Linked DNA regions of Homo sapiens: region 2 is linked to region 1. Evidence: promoter capture Hi-C in 16 types of primary human blood cells and fetal thymus (Javierre and others, 2016). All regions are on one chromosome and are shown on one strand. The core of a region is centred on a gene start or on the middle of the fragment in contact, and the rest is flanking DNA. Distances in the headings are between cores, read along the strand shown. Region 1 holds the start of DLG4 (discs large MAGUK scaffold protein 4). Region 2 overlaps FXR2 (FMR1 autosomal homolog 2).

Region 1 (4,575 bases), core at 541-3,040:
CAGTTTCACAGTAGGAAGACCCCCCCAGATTCACTGCCCCTCCCTTAGTAAAGCCTCTGAGACCTTCCTGAACATTCCCTTCTGTCTTTGCCCTCTGTTCCTTCCAGAGACCATGTGCCCAGGCAGATGGATTCCTCCCGGGCCTGAGAGGAACTGCAGGAATTCTCCTGCCTCTTACCCGTAAAACCCCAACTTCTCTAGCCCTAGGGCAGGAAGTCCCAAACAATTTCTACCCCTTTTTCTGCAATTCTCATTGGGGTGAGAGGAGGCCCAGGAGGAGAGAGAGCTGGGCTCAGCTTCTTTTTGAGCTGCTGGAGCCCTCTGTGAGGAGGCCCTCTTTGCTGGCTTCTCAGGAGAGCGTGGCTAGGTTCTGCCTGCCTATGGGAAGAGGGGGCCAGGGTGTGTGGAGCAAGATGGTGGCGGTGCTGGTGCCTTGGGACCTGGGGGAATGGGACAGCTGGTCGGCTCAGAGACGGCCTACTTTACTCACAGCTGGAATTTAGTGGGGAGAAGCAGCTCAACTCCAATCCTGGAGGATTAGGGAGATTAAAGTGAGAGAAGAGAGAGATGTCCCAGAGACCAAGAGGTGAAAAACAGGGCTCCTTGTGGAGGGGAGGTCTGGGAGCGAAGTGGGGGGCTGGGGCTCGGAGATCCTTCTCCCCAAATCTTTCCGTAGGGGCTGGGGTGAAGGGCACAGTCTGGGGAGATGAAGTGACAGTGTGTTCATCTTCCTGTGTTGGCATCTTCCCTGTCCCAATTCTCCTTGCATCTCACTAGCTCCCAGGTCAGCCCTCTGGCTCCTGGCACCCCCACTGCTGCGGTGGGCACCCCCACTCCTCACAGTGCTGCATAGCGACCTCTTCCAGGCCTTGCTGGGTGAGTAGCCCGTTTTCTGAGGGACCTGGGCCTCCAAGGGCCATTACTGAACTTCGGGGGCTGTTTGGGAGCCCAGAGATCATTTGGTCCAAGCTGGAGCACCATGCAGGGTCCTGCCTATGGTGTCCTCCATGAGTGTGGACCAGCCTTGGCTGAAAGGGCTCCTCCCTTGCCAGCCAGCCAGCAGCGGTGATGACAGGGGTGATGTGCCTGGAGAGGCCTGGGGTGGGGAGGTAACTCAGTTCTGTTCCTGTGACAGACATCCTGGACTATTATGAGGCTTCCCTCTCAGAGAGTCAGGTAAGGAGGTGGGGGCGAGCGCCTAACTTCCTGAGGGGCAGGCAGGGCTGGAGGGGTGAGCCAAATATCACTAATATTACCTGGAATCTTGGGGGCCCTGCTGACAAAAGCCTGAGTCAGTGGCCCAGGGACTTGGGGCACCGAGAATGCACTCTCTGTGGTCCTGTACCCACTCTCCCTTTCTTCCTCGTTTTCTTTGGCTGCCCCAGTTTCAGGCACTAAAGAGTCTAGGGCTTAACTTTTTAGGTTTCCCCCTGAGAAACCTGAGGGAGAACTAGGCCCCCAGGGATTGCCTCCTTCAGCTCCTCCCTCACACCCGACCCCCTACCGCCTGCCGAGAGGCCTCCCTCCCGTATTCAAATAACCGTGGGTGCTCCCAGCCCAACTATAGATGCTTCCTTCTCTAAGAAATGAAATCCAGCCTCATCGTCTTTGCTGTCATCGCTGGTGGCTGGCCAGGTCTCCATGTTTGCCTCAGGGGCCTCTGTGCTTCTGCTTCTATCTCCTTTCCCATTATCCGGGTTCCTGCCAGCACAGAAGGAGTTAACTCTGCCAAGGCACCCCCCCCATTCTGGCTCCTAGCTCCCTCCCTCCCTCCCCCTGCTTCCTCTCTCCTCCTCTCTCCCCTTCCCTCTTCGGCTCCACGGCTCCCTCGGCCGCTGCCGTTTCCAACCCCCCCACCCCACTCCCCCGCCACGGCCCCTAGCCCCTGGCCGTTTGGCAAGACCCCCCCCTACCCCGGGGCTCCCCGAAATCCAGTTCCCCTCCCCCACCCCAGCTCATGCCCCAGCCCCCGAACTCCGGGGCTGCCAGCCCCCGGTGCCCCCGCCCCTCCTGAGAATCGGGGTGTGCTCCCCAAGCCCCCTCCCCTCCACTGGGGAGCCCCTTTTAGGGCCCCCTTCCCCTCCCTCCCACGCTCCCCTCCCCTTCCCTTCTCCAACCCCCTCCTTCCCCTCTCACCCCTCCCCCCATCCTGGCCCCCCCTGCAAAAGTGGGGTGCGGAGGGGGGAGGGGTGAGAACCCACGGAGGGGAGGAACGAAACTCCGATGAAGTCAGAGCCCCTTACCCGCCGCCGCGGCCAGGCCCCCCAACATGGACTGTCTCTGTATAGTGACAACCAAGGTAAGCATGATGGGGGGGCTATAAACTGGGGGGAGGGTATGAGTTTGTGGGGAGGGGTTAGTAGGCCTTATCTGGGACTGGCGCCCCTGGAGTGGCAGCATCAGAAGTAAGATGTATTTGGGGGTCTTAATTTAGTTTTGGGGTTCACATCTGAGAAAATGCAGGATTTGGCCACAGGTGCCCCCTGGAGTGATCCCTTTGTACCTGTAGGGATATGGAAAATTTAGGATATTCCATGGTTCGGGGGGCCTGGCGGGTTTGGGGGTTCATCAGCGCTGTTTGAGGGAGACTTATTTAAGGAGAAGCCTGGCTCATAAGGGAGTCCTGCTGGTGTATGTGGGAAGGTGGGCTATGTTGGGGGGTTCCTCTTTCCTCCCCAGGGAAAAGCTGGCTTCCAAGGGCCTTGTCCAGTTTTGGGGGGCTCCTGGCATGGGGTAAAGGTTATTGGTTGTGAGTGCCTGACTGATCTGGGGGTGTCAGCTGGCAGGGAAGGGGTGGGCCTTCAGACTCTAGAACAAGCATCTCGTGGTGGCTGCATTTAGGGATGCTCTCTCAATTTGAGGGAACTGTTAATTTAGGGTTCAGTCATATAGAATGGAGGTAGTTGGAAGTTGTCAGAGGGCTGGGGCCCTGGCATGGGATCACCTGAGGGAATGGACCAGGTGAGGCAAGGATTTGGGGGTACTCCCATAGGAGGCAGAAGATTGCAGCAGCCGAGCTTGCCAGCCCCTGAGGAGGAGGATGAGAGGCTTAGGGAGAGAGGGGATTTGAGGAGGGGGACCGGGTGGGTGGTGCACAATTTGGGGGTGGCCCAAAGGCAGGTGCCCAATATCCCCATCTCCTCCCACACTGTATCTAGCCCTGATCAAGAGAGAGGGAGAAGAGCAGATGTGGGGACTGTTCCAGATACCCCTGACGCTTGGGATCAAGGTGGGGGAGGACACCTGGATTTAAGGGTCCCTGAGGGCTTATGACCGAAGTTACTGAGGTTACTGGGGTGAAAAGGTGTAGGAGGAGGGCAGGGCTGGCAGCGATGGGGATCTGTGCAAGAGTGTCCCTCTGGTTGGAGCCTGGCAAAGGCAGGAGATCTCGGATGGAGCACAGGCGAGCTCCTGGTGGGATGCAGATACCTAGGCTCTCCTTGGAGACTCTGGGACTGGAGAGCTGGATGCCTGGTGTGTGGAGGGAGGCTTGGGCGGGTGGCAGGCAGCTGGGGGCTGGGGGGTGGGACAGGAAGTGGGGGCCGGGGGAGGCGGGGTCCGGGTGAGTCACAGGCTGGGGAGGGGGTTATATTTAGTGGGAACTGCAGCTTTTCATGGGAGGGAGCTGAGGACACACATGTTCCCTGCCACAAACTCACACATGTGTGTACACATGCATTGTGCACGTGTGAGGATGGTTGGAAGAGATTGGGGGCTGAGGACCTTTAGATCTGGAGCCCCCACCCTCTCTCCACCAGGGCGACTTTCTTGTCCTTCATTCTGTGGGTTTCGGGCTTTCTCCCAGGCTGCCTCTTCCCCACATCCCCTGTAGTTTCGGTGGATTTTTATGCCTCAGTTTCTCTGGCCTGGTTTCCTCTGCTCCCGCTGTCTCCTGCCCTTAGGCCTGTCACTTGGCCTTAGGCTCCATGGCTGTGGTCCCCTGCATTCCAGGTGTAAATAGAAAGCCCGCTGGAATGTGTGGGCTCTGCTTCCAACACGTGAACACACAAATGGGAGCGAGGGTGAGGGGCTTGCCAGCAGGCAGCTATTCTGGGTGGGTGGGTGGCCTTATTCATTACCCACTCCAGACTCCTACTTCTTCCATGGAGCCCAGGGTTGAGCATCCCTGAAGGAAGGAGGCTTACAGAGCAGATCATGCATTTGGGGTTTACAGAGGCGTGGAGACCCAGGCTTGCCACATTCCTTGGCTGGAAAACTTGTCAGCCTCGGTATGGTGGGGACTCCAACTCCCATAAGGCCCCGAGGCACCAGATCCCTCAATGTTAGAGGGTTGCTGCCCATGGCGCTGTTGGGAGTTGTGGTTCATCTCTATCCAGGGCAGCCAGCGGAGGGTAGCCCAAGAGGAGCCTGCAGGGGGCACATGGCTCCTGCTTCCCCAAATGCTGGATGGGGTAGGGAGTGCTCAGGCTTTGCGGTCGTTGAGCTCCCCAGCTCTGCCTGAGTCTTCCATCTTTCATTGCCTATATTTAGACTCCTGCCGCAGTAATTTAAGGAACATTTATTGAAAGCCTACTGCGTGCTAGGCCCTGTGTTGTGTGCAAACTCCACTCTACA
Region 2 (4,412 bases), core at 1,240-3,739, 390 kb before region 1:
GCCAAGGGCATTTTTGGTGTTTTCTCTCCTAAGCTTAGCCTTTGTCCCTAGCAGCAAAGCTCATGAATAGTTCTTGTGTATTAGCCTTTTGAAACCTCTAATTCTTTTATTTTTGTTTATTTATTTTGTTTTTTGAGTCACGGTCTTGCTGTGTTGCCCAAGCTATGGAGTGCAGTGGTGCAATCACAGCTCATCACAGCCTCGACCTCCCTGGCTCAAGTGATCCTCCCACCTTAGCCTCCTAAATAGCTGGGACTACAGGCACAAGCCATCATACCCTGCTAATTTATAAATTTTTTGCAGAGATGAGGTTTCCCTGTGTTGTATGGGCTCTCTAATTTTTTTAAAAAACATCTTTATTGAGCTGAAATTGACATACAACAAAGTAGACATATTTAAAGTGTGCCATTTGTTAAGTTTTGACATGTATGTAACTGAGTCCATCACTGCAATCAAAGGAATGAACATTTCTGTCACTCCCAAAAGTCCTCCATCAACTACCAATCTTCTGTCATTATACATTAAATTGCCCTTCCTGATTTTCGATAGAAATGAAAAGGCAGTTCAATTCAGCTAAGAAAGGATAGTCTTGTCTTTTCTTTTCTTCTTTTCTTCTTTTTTTTTTTTTGAGGCAGAGTTTGCCCTGTTGTCCAGGCTGCAGTGCGATGGCATGATCTTGACTGACTGCAGTCTCTAACTCCTGGCTTCAAGTGATTTTCATGCCTCAGCCACCCTGAATAACTGAGGTTACAGCCATGTGCCACCACGCCTGGCTAATTTATATATTATTATTATTATTATTTTTTTTTTTTTTTAGTAGCAATGGGATTTTGCCATATTGGCCAGACTAGTCTCGAACTCATGGCCTCAGCTGATCTGCCAGCCTCGGCCTCCCAGTGTTGGGATTACAGGCGTGTGCTACCGCCCCTGGCCAGAAAGGATAGTCTTCAACAGACAGTGCTGGAACAAGATATCTTTAGGTAAAAAATGGGCTGGGCACAGTGGTCACACCTGTAATTCCAACATTCTTGGAGGCTAAGGCGGGTGCATTGCTTGAGTCCAGGAGTTCAAGACCAGCCTGGGCAACATAGCGAAACCCTGTCTCTATTAAAAAAAAATTTTAATTTAAAAATATATTAAAAATAAAAAAAAGTGGCCTGGTGCGATGGTTCATACCTGTAATCCCAGCACTTTGGGAGGCTGAGGCGGGTGGATCACCAGAGGTCGGGAGTTTGAGACCAGTCTGACGAACATGGAGAAACCCTGTCTCTCTTAAAAATACAGAATTAGCCAGGGTCGTGGCCCATGCCTGTAATCCCAGCTACTTGGGAGGCTGAGGCAGAATTGCTTGAACCTGGGAGGCGGAGGTTGCGGTGAGCCAAGGTTGCACCATTGCACTCCAGCGTGGGCAACAAGAGCGAAACTCTGTCTCAAAAAAATAAATAAGAATTTAAAAATTTAAAAAACATTGATCAATACCTCACCTTATATATAAAATTTAATTCAAAATGGATCATAGGCTGGGCACAGTGGCTCACATCTTTAATTCCAGCTTTGGGAGGCTGAGGCAGATGGATCACCTGAGGTCAGGAGTTCGAGACCAACCTGGCCAAGATGGTGAAACCCCGTCTCTACTAAAAATATAAAAAATTAGCCTGGTGTGGTGGCGGTTGCCTGTAATCTCAGCTACTCGTGAGGCTGAGGCAGGAGAATTGCTTGAACCCGGGGGGTGGAGGTTGCAGTGGGCCAAGATTGCGCCATTACACTCCAGCCTGGGTGACAGAGTGAGACTCTGTCTAAAAATAAAGGATTATAGATGTAAATGTAAAACAAAAAACTAAAAGTTTAAGAAGAAGACATAAGAGAAAACCTTTGTGGCCTTGGATTAGGCAAAGATTTCTTTTTCTTTTTCTTTTTTTTTTTTTTGAGATGGAGTTTTGCTCTTGTTGCCCAGGCTGGAGTGCAATGGCATGATCTTGGCTCACTGCAACCTCTGACTCTCAGGTTCAAGTGATTCTCTTTCCTCAGCCTCCCAAATAGCTGGGATTACAGACATGCACCACCACACCTGGCTAATTTTTGTATTTTTAGTAGAGACGGGGTTTCACCATGTTGGCAGGCTGGTCTCGAACTCCTGACCTCAGGTGATCTGCCTGCCTCGTCCTCCCAAAGTGCTGGGATTATAGGCGTGAGCCACTGTGCCTGGCCTGGGCAAAGATTTCTTAGATATGAAACCAAAAGCACAGTTGATAAAATAATAAATTCATAAGCTAGACCTTTTTCAAAATTAGAAATCCCTAATTGTATGTGAAAAATAGGGAGAAGGTAGAAAAATTGGGAGCATAGGGGTGAATGCATGGCTTTGGCCTCCTTAGTGAGGACACAGACCACAGGAGGTGGATCAGCTGTTCAGTCATCCCTCTTGCTCTTGTCAAAATATCAAGATTGGAGTCTTCCATAAATTTTATTATCCTTTATAAATTATCAGTGTCATTCTAGATTCAATTCTAGTATTAAAAAACCGATGTTTTTAAATTAAGTCTTAATTTTTCCTTCTGTAAATTGTGTTCATCACAATTTTGAACTTGTCTAGTGTTCCGATTATTGTCTTAGGACCCATGCATCAGGGCAGCGAGTCTGCTCAGATCTCTTGCTGTATTGCGGAGGTAGGCCCTTCTCTCTCGACAGATCCTCATGTCCTCTAGGTGTTCCAGGACAGCCTCACACTGTCTCATGGGATATTCTTAGCCTTGCTGAATGTTGTTGGTATTTTAATTGAACTCTGGCAGGCTGCTTAGCACAACAGGAGGCAGACAGATAGGGAGGCCCCTGTGGGAGCCTGAGTAGATCATTGGTTTCCAGGCTGTTCTGATGCAGGTGGTACATACACCTCTCCATGACAATATCATTTCCTTTCTCTGTTTGACTGCCCATATTCTTTCCCCAGTGCAGCCTTTCAGGCTGTCTCATTACACCACTTGTGTCCCTATCTAAAACTCAAGTTTAAGGTTTTGTGGTGTCTTATTCCCTTGATGGCTAAGGTGGAAGTAAAAGGTCATTTTATTTTTTTTGCTTTTTTCTAAAATCCATTCTAGGGCTTTGTGAAGGATGTCCATGAAGACTCTGTCACCATCTTCTTTGAAAACAAGTAAGACCTTGGGAATAGAGAATCCAGCATACTAGGTCCTAGAAGGAGAGTGGAGAAGAGGGGGCAGCTGAGTCCTATGAGGCATGTAATAGGTTGGGAGAGCTGAGGGTTTGGGTGGGAACTCATATGGATCCCAGGAGAGGAAAGGGCTGAGAATTTGGTGAGGGTGGGGGCATTTGACCCAGTATTTAGAGTCTAGAAAGAGATGGAAGACACTACTATGGAGCAGGGCCTGGGGTTTAGCCTCTAATTATCCAGATAGGTGGAACTCGCCCAGCTGAGGCAATAACCCTTTTGTAAAGAAATGGGCAACCATATCAGTCAGAGTAGCTTTTTCATATTATTGTTTCTATTATAGCTGGCAGAGTGAGAGACAAATTCCTTTTGGGGATGTCCGGCTACCACCTCCAGCTGACTATAATAAGGAGATCACAGAAGGGGATGAAGTGGAGGTAAGGGCTGTGGAGTACACCTTTCTAAATGTCACTTTTCCCCAGGATTCTAGGCTTTTCTCTGGTTGGTTCATGTTCCTTCCTCCCCAACTAAGCCATATCCAGCCATGTAGCCTATGGAAATGTAAAATGCAACAGTTCCCCTTTTATCACTGTTGTGATCAGCCAAACTCTCAGGAACATCCCCAGTTTCAGGCGATTTGCCTTCCATTTATGGTAACAACATCTAAAATCCAGTGCCCTCTGATTTTTTTGTTGTTGTTGTTGTTGTTGTTTTGAGATGGAGTCTTGCTCTGTTGCCCAGGCTGGAGTGCAGTGGCGCGATCTCAGCTAACTGCAACCTCCGCCTCTTGGGTTCAAGCAATTCTTCCACCTCAGCCTCCCAAGTAGCTGGGATTACAAGCACCTGCCATCATGCTCGGGTAATTTTTGCATTTTTGTAAAGACATGGTTTCACCATGTTGGCCAGGCTAGTCTTGAATTTCTGACTTCAGGTGATCCACCCGCCTCAGCTTCCCAAAGTGCTGGGATTACAGGCATGAGCCACCATGCCCTGCCGTCCTCTGATTTTAATTAGTTCCTTCCTCTGGTTTCTTGTATCCTTGGTTTAAGATACATCCCAGGCTGGATGCAGTGGCTCACACCTGAAATCCCAGCACTTTGAGAGGTCGAGTGGGGCAGATCACCTGAGGTCAGGAGTTCAAGACCAGCCTGGCCAACATGATGAAACCCCATCTCTACTAAAAATACAAAAAATTAGCTGGGCGTGGTGGCGGGCGCCTATAATCCCAGCTACTTGGGAGGCTGAGGCA

Evidence for each region. The method cuts DNA at HindIII sites, captures the fragments that hold promoters and counts their contacts. A CHiCAGO score of 5 or more calls a contact.
Region 2: a fragment that was not itself captured here is called in contact with the fragment with the promoter of DLG4 in region 1 in 2 of 17 cell types (monocytes and naive CD4 T cells); the score reaches 6.4 in monocytes.

The regions. Positions count from the first base shown.
Region 1 is chr17:7,214,842-7,219,416 of GRCh38, reverse strand. It overlaps DLG4 (discs large MAGUK scaffold protein 4), which reads left to right and starts at 1,790. Exons shown (of 20, transcript NM_001321075.3): 1 at 1,790-2,299. The coding sequence starts at 2,270. It also overlaps a transcript of ACADVL not described here. RefSeq lists an enhancer at 3,460-4,438. The HindIII fragment of the contact is 10,481 bases long and covers 1-4,575 here.
Region 2 is chr17:7,604,833-7,609,244 of GRCh38, reverse strand. It overlaps FXR2 (FMR1 autosomal homolog 2), which reads left to right. Exons shown (of 17, transcript NM_004860.4): 2 at 3,096-3,148; 3 at 3,507-3,600. Among named protein-coding and RNA genes, the nearest start is that of FXR2, 7.9 kb to the left of the region's middle. The HindIII fragment of the contact is 4,908 bases long and covers 36-4,412 here.